2 separate regions of the Homo sapiens genome follow, and region 2 is linked to region 1. The links are contacts of gene promoters, found by promoter capture Hi-C in human tissues and cell types (Jung and others, 2019). All regions are on one chromosome and are shown on one strand. Each heading gives the region's core, a stretch centred on a gene start or on the middle of the fragment in contact. The rest is flanking DNA. Distances are from core to core; before and after follow the strand shown.

The links. Contacts are between HindIII fragments. The study calls those that stand out against the background at their distance.
Region 2: a fragment that was not itself captured here is called in contact with the fragment with the promoter of UBC in region 1 in 1 of the 25 tissues and cell types used here (IMR-90 fibroblasts).

The regions. Positions count from the first base shown.
Region 1 is chr12:124,913,400-124,916,100 of GRCh38, forward strand. UBC (ubiquitin C) reads right to left here and starts at 1,251. Exons shown (of 2, transcript NM_021009.7): 1 at 1,188-1,251; 2 at 1-375. The coding sequence starts at 372. It overlaps MIR5188 (microRNA 5188), which reads left to right and starts at 2,148; the gene lies at 2,148-2,260. RefSeq lists enhancers at 548-1,505, 830-1,279, 2,604-2,701 and a silencer at 1,490-1,829. The HindIII fragment of the contact is 8,951 bases long and covers 1-2,701 here.
Region 2 is chr12:124,965,575-124,968,275 of GRCh38, forward strand. DHX37 (DEAH-box helicase 37) reads right to left here. Exons shown (of 27, transcript NM_032656.4): 11 at 1,549-1,644; 12 at 1,219-1,304; 13 at 94-238. Among named protein-coding and RNA genes, the nearest start is that of DHX37, 22 kb to the right of the region's middle. The HindIII fragment of the contact is 4,237 bases long and covers 1-2,701 here.

The sequences.
Region 1 (2,701 bases), core at 1-2,500:
CTTTCCGGCAAAGATCAACCTCTGCTGGTCAGGAGGAATGCCTTCCTTGTCCTGGATCTTTGCTTTGACGTTCTCGATGGTGTCACTGGGCTCGACCTCAAGGGTGATGGTCTTGCCAGTGAGTGTCTTCACGAAGATTTGCATCCCACCTCTGAGACGGAGCACCAGGTGCAGGGTGGACTCTTTCTGGATGTTGTAGTCAGACAGGGTGCGCCCATCTTCCAGCTGTTTTCCAGCAAAGATCAGCCTCTGCTGGTCAGGAGGGATGCCTTCCTTATCTTGGATCTTTGCCTTGACATTCTCGATGGTGTCACTGGGCTCAACCTCGAGGGTGATGGTCTTACCAGTCAGAGTCTTCACGAAGATCTGCATTGTCTAACAAAAAAGCCAAAAACGGCCAGAATTTAGCGGACAATTTACTAGTCTAACACTGAAAATTACATATTGACCCAAATGATTACATTTCAAAAGGTGCCTAAAAAACTTCACAAAACACACTCGCCAACCCCGAGCGCATAGTTCAAAACCGGAGCTTCAGCTACTTAAGAAGATAGGTACATAAAACCGACCAGAGAAACTGACGCCTCACTTATCCCTCCCCTCACCAGAGGTCCGGCGCCTGTCGATTCAGGAGAGCCTACCCTAGGCCCGAACCCTGCGTCCTGCGACGGAGAAAAGCCTACCGCACACCTACCGGCAGGTGGCCCCACCCTGCATTATAAGCCAACAGAACGGGTGACGTCACGACACGACGAGGGCGCGCGCTCCCAAAGGTACGGGTGCACTGCCCAACGGCACCGCCATAACTGCCGCCCCCGCAACAGACGACAAACCGAGTTCTCCAGTCAGTGACAAACTTCACGTCAGGGTCCCCAGATGGTGCCCCAGCCCATCTCACCCGAATAAGAGCTTTCCCGCATTAGCGAAGGCCTCAAGACCTTGGGTTCTTGCCGCCCACCATGCCCCCCACCTTGTTTCAACGACCTCACAGCCCGCCTCACAAGCGTCTTCCATTCAAGACTCGGGAACAGCCGCCATTTTGCTGCGCTCCCCCCAACCCCCAGTTCAGGGCAACCTTGCTCGCGGACCCAGACTACAGCCCTTGGCGGTCTCTCCACACGCCTCCGTCCCACCGAGCGGCCCGGCGGCCACGAAAGCCCCGGCCAGCCCAGCAGCCCGCTACTCACCAAGTGACGATCACAGCGATCCACAAACAAGAACTGCGACCCAAATCCCGGCTGCGACGGAACTAGCTGTGCCACACCCGGCGCGTCCTTATATAATCATCGGCGTTCACCGCCCCACGGAGATCCCTCCGCAGAATCGCCGAGAAGGGACTACTTTTCCTCGCCTGTTCCGCTCTCTGGAAAGAAAACCAGTGCCCTAGAGTCACCCAAGTCCCGTCCTAAAATGTCCTTCTGCTGATACTGGGGTTCTAAGGCCGAGTCTTATGAGCAGCGGGCCGCTGTCCTGAGCGTCCGGGCGGAAGGATCAGGACGCTCGCTGCGCCCTTCGTCTGACGTGGCAGCGCTCGCCGTGAGGAGGGGGGCGCCCGCGGGAGGCGCCAAAACCCGGCGCGGAGGCCGCTGCACCGGGAGCGGGTGGGCGGCCCGCGTTCCTTAGCCGCGGCTCCGCGGCCCCTCCCCTCAGCCCCCGCGGTCCCCTCGGGTCGCGAACCCCGCGTTCGGCGGACGTGGGGCACGCAGCGAGCGCCTTCTGCAGAGTCGGGGTCTCCCTCCCCTCCCTCCTGACCCGCCCTGGCCCACCCTGCGAGATGGACGGGTCTTTATTTTTGGGTCACATTTGAGGTAATGACGGGGCTTCCTTTGCTCAGCCCCCTTCAACCTCCCTGAGCCTCCCAGGCCGGTCGCGGGGGGCTCCCGGGGCCGCGGGACAAGGACAATGACTCGGCAGATCTCAGGGCGGGCGTGGCCCTAAAGCTGGGGAACGCTCGAGAACTTTCCAGGGGAGACACTGCAGAGGAGCTGGGTGTCCAGGTTAAATTTGGAAAAAAGAGGCGGAAACCCCACACAGTTTTATTTTAGCTGGAACGCAAGGCTGAGCGAACGACATCCTTCTAGACTGTTCTTCCACCTTCCTGTACATTCTGAGGGCCAGGTATGGAAAGGTCCTACTTGATGCCAACAGGGAGGCATGGAAATTTCTCTGGTTTCAATGGGTACGATTATTGTAAGCAGGATCCATTCAATAATCGGACCCATTTAAACCGGAGATTTTAAAAGACAGGAATAGAATCCCAACCTTATTTCAGTGCAGGGTAGGGTGTCAAATATGAAATGTAATTCTACAGGGCAATTCTATTTTGGTAAAAGAAGTGGGGAGAAAAGCATCACCAGCCAGCTTTTTAAATTTTTACCACAACCTATTTTGTGATCCCTACGTGTCATTTCTTCAGTATATTTTTTAAATGTTTTAAAATATACGAACATGGTGAGATTTTTTAAATGTGTCTTTTTAAAGTGTACAGTGAAAAGTCTCCCTCATGCCCTCAATTTCCCAGCCACTGTTCCTTCTGGACTCTTCTACAAATAGTCCCTGTTTCTACAAATGTATTGGAGGTAGGGAGGCTATTTTGATTTCTACCCTTAAAAGCTTCAAAAAAAAGAGAAAAAGAGGCTACCAACTGAAAAATATTTTGCCATTAGGAAAAGGCTGCATTCTTGTTTTAAGTTATGAACAT
Region 2 (2,701 bases), core at 111-2,610, 52 kb after region 1:
GAACCCCGGCCCCCGGGGGGCCCACAAGGGCTCTGGGCACATCCTCAGGGCAGAGATAATGAACATGAGCAGGAATCGGTGCTCGGGCCACACCTCCATCTTGCCCGCCATCCCCCAGGTCCAGATCGAGGTCGGAGTCCAGGGCCCCCTCTTCCTCATCCACTTCTGCCTCCCTGTCCTCATCGCCTTCGCCTGCCGGTAACACCGAGTAATGATCCAAGTTGATCTGGGGCAGCACCTACGGCGAACAAGACATAGACACCTGGGCTGCAGGGATCCTGGGTGTGAGGACGTGGCACGTGCAGGAAGACAGGTGCCCTCGCATGGAAGCCCCGGTCCACACCCATGGGCCATGCAACCCGGGGCAGGCCACATAATTCTCTCTTCCTGCCAGAATTTCCCCACCTAAACATTGGGGACTATCATAGACCTTGTCTCCCAGGCTGGTGGGAGGGTTGTGTGAACACACGTGAGGAACCTGGATCGCTGCCTGACACATCGGTAGTGCAACAGGCAAGTCAGAGACGGCTGAGTGCTTACGCTACCGTCACGGAGCACAAGACCCACGGTGCCTTCACGCAGAGGCTAGAGGAAAGCCCCTGCCAGCCCAGCCATCCCAGAGTAGCTGGGAGTACAGGTGCACACCACCATGCCTGGCTAATTTTGTATTTTTAGTAGAGACAGGGTTTCGCCATGTTGGTCAGGTTGGACTTGAACTCCTGACCTCAGGTGATCCACCTGCCTCAGTCTCCCAAAGTGCTGGGATTACAGGCGTAGCCACCACGCCTGGCCTTCTTTTCCATTTCTGAGACAGAGTCTCACTCTGTTGCCCAGGCTAGAGTGCAGTGGGACCATCACAGCTCATTGCAGCCTTGACCTCCTGGGCTCAGATGGTTCTCCCACCTCAGCCTCTGAGCAGCTGGGACCACAGGCATGCGCCACTGCACTGGATTAATCTAAAAAATTTTTTGTAGAGACATGGTCTCACCATGTTGCCCAAGCTGGTCTCAAACTCTAGGCCTCAAGCGATCCTCCCACCTTGGCCTCCCAAAGTGCTGGAATTACAGGCATGAGCCACTGTGCCTGACCAGGAACTGGATTTTTAACTTCATTTTATTCCAATTACACTTAAACCTAAGCAGCCACATGGGGCTGGTAGCTGCCATCCTGGACAACGCAGCCTTACTCTCCAGGAGTCCCTGCCAGCCCCCCACGTACCTCAGCCCGCGCCTTCTTGGCCCTGGCCCTTGACTTCTTAAACTTCCGCATTTCCTCCACCGAGTCTTTCTGATCGTCGTCCTTTTCTGGGAGAGGGGCAGGTTGGGGAGAAAGGCGTCTGTGGCCGGCGTGGTCGCCAGCACACTGCCCTTTGTTGTTCAAGGCATGGCCACTCAGTGGTGGCCATTTATTCGGGGGTGAGGTGGGGGATGGCAAAGGTGCTGATGCTTCCAGAGAGAAGCTCAGAGGCAGGAGCTGCACCCCAGCCAGGGAGCGCGAGGCCAAGCCCAGCTGCTCAGGGCAGAGTGCTGGTCGGGGCGTCCTCTTTACCTTGTGGCCGGGCTCTGGAGGGTGGGAAAGCCTTCCTGAGCCTGCGGCACAGCGCATGCACCTCAGCCTGCCCCGTCAGGAACACCAGGATGCCACCTGTGGAAAGAATGGGCCCCTCTGTTATCCATCAGTCACTCACAAACATTTGCTTAGCAAAAGCACCTGCCAAGCCATGCTCTGAGAGGCAAGGTTCCAGGGATAATGGGGGAGGACAGGAGTACACAGACATAGATGAGCAGGGGGCAGCACGCCCAGACTGAAGCAGCTGCCGCCAGGGAGTTCAACAAACACGGCGACTGCACAGCCCAGCAGCATCACTCCCAGGAACAGACCCAAAAGCCCTGAGAAGCGTGCTCACACGGAACCCTGCACACCACACTCACGACAGTGACAGCGCCGCGGCTGCCCTGAGACCTGAGGCTGCAGGAAGGCTCACTGCCCAAGCTCCAGCCTCACCTCCTGCCAGCCCCAGTCTCCCAGAGAATGGATGGGAGCCCCGAAAGGCCATAAGCAGAGCAAGGACAGAGCATCACGAAGCAGCAACCTCGGCTTCCTTGAAGGACGAGGTCAAGCTTGTTGGGAAGCACCCCCATGGCTCCTTGCCTCCCTAACATGAAGAAAGCCAGCCTTGGGCCCAAATTCGGCACACAAGAGTCTCTGGCTAGGCTGGGTGCAGTGGCTCACACTTGTAATTCCAGCACTTTGGGAGGCTGAGGCAGGCAGCTCACCTGAGGTCAGGAGTTCGAGACCAGCCCGGCCAACATGATGAAACCCCATCTCTACTAAAATACAAAAAATTAGCCAGGCGTGGCAGTGTGCGACCAGTGTGGGACCTGTAATCCCAGCTACTTGGGAGGCTGAGGCAGGAGAATCACTTGAACCCGGGAGGTGGAGGTTGCAGTGAGCCAAGATCTGCCACTGCACTCCAGCCTGGGCAACAAGAGTAAAACTCCGTCTCAAAAAAAAAAAGTCTGGCTGGAAGCGATCACAATCTATTCACACAGAAAGGTCACATCCATTTCAGTAACATGAGGTGGGTAACGGAGCAGGTATGATGGGGACAAGGCAGAACTGTGAAGGGTATCCGTGACTCTTGGGGGGATGTGCCCGTTCCCCTACAGTGTCTATGGTCACCTGCCAGCACTGGCCTGGG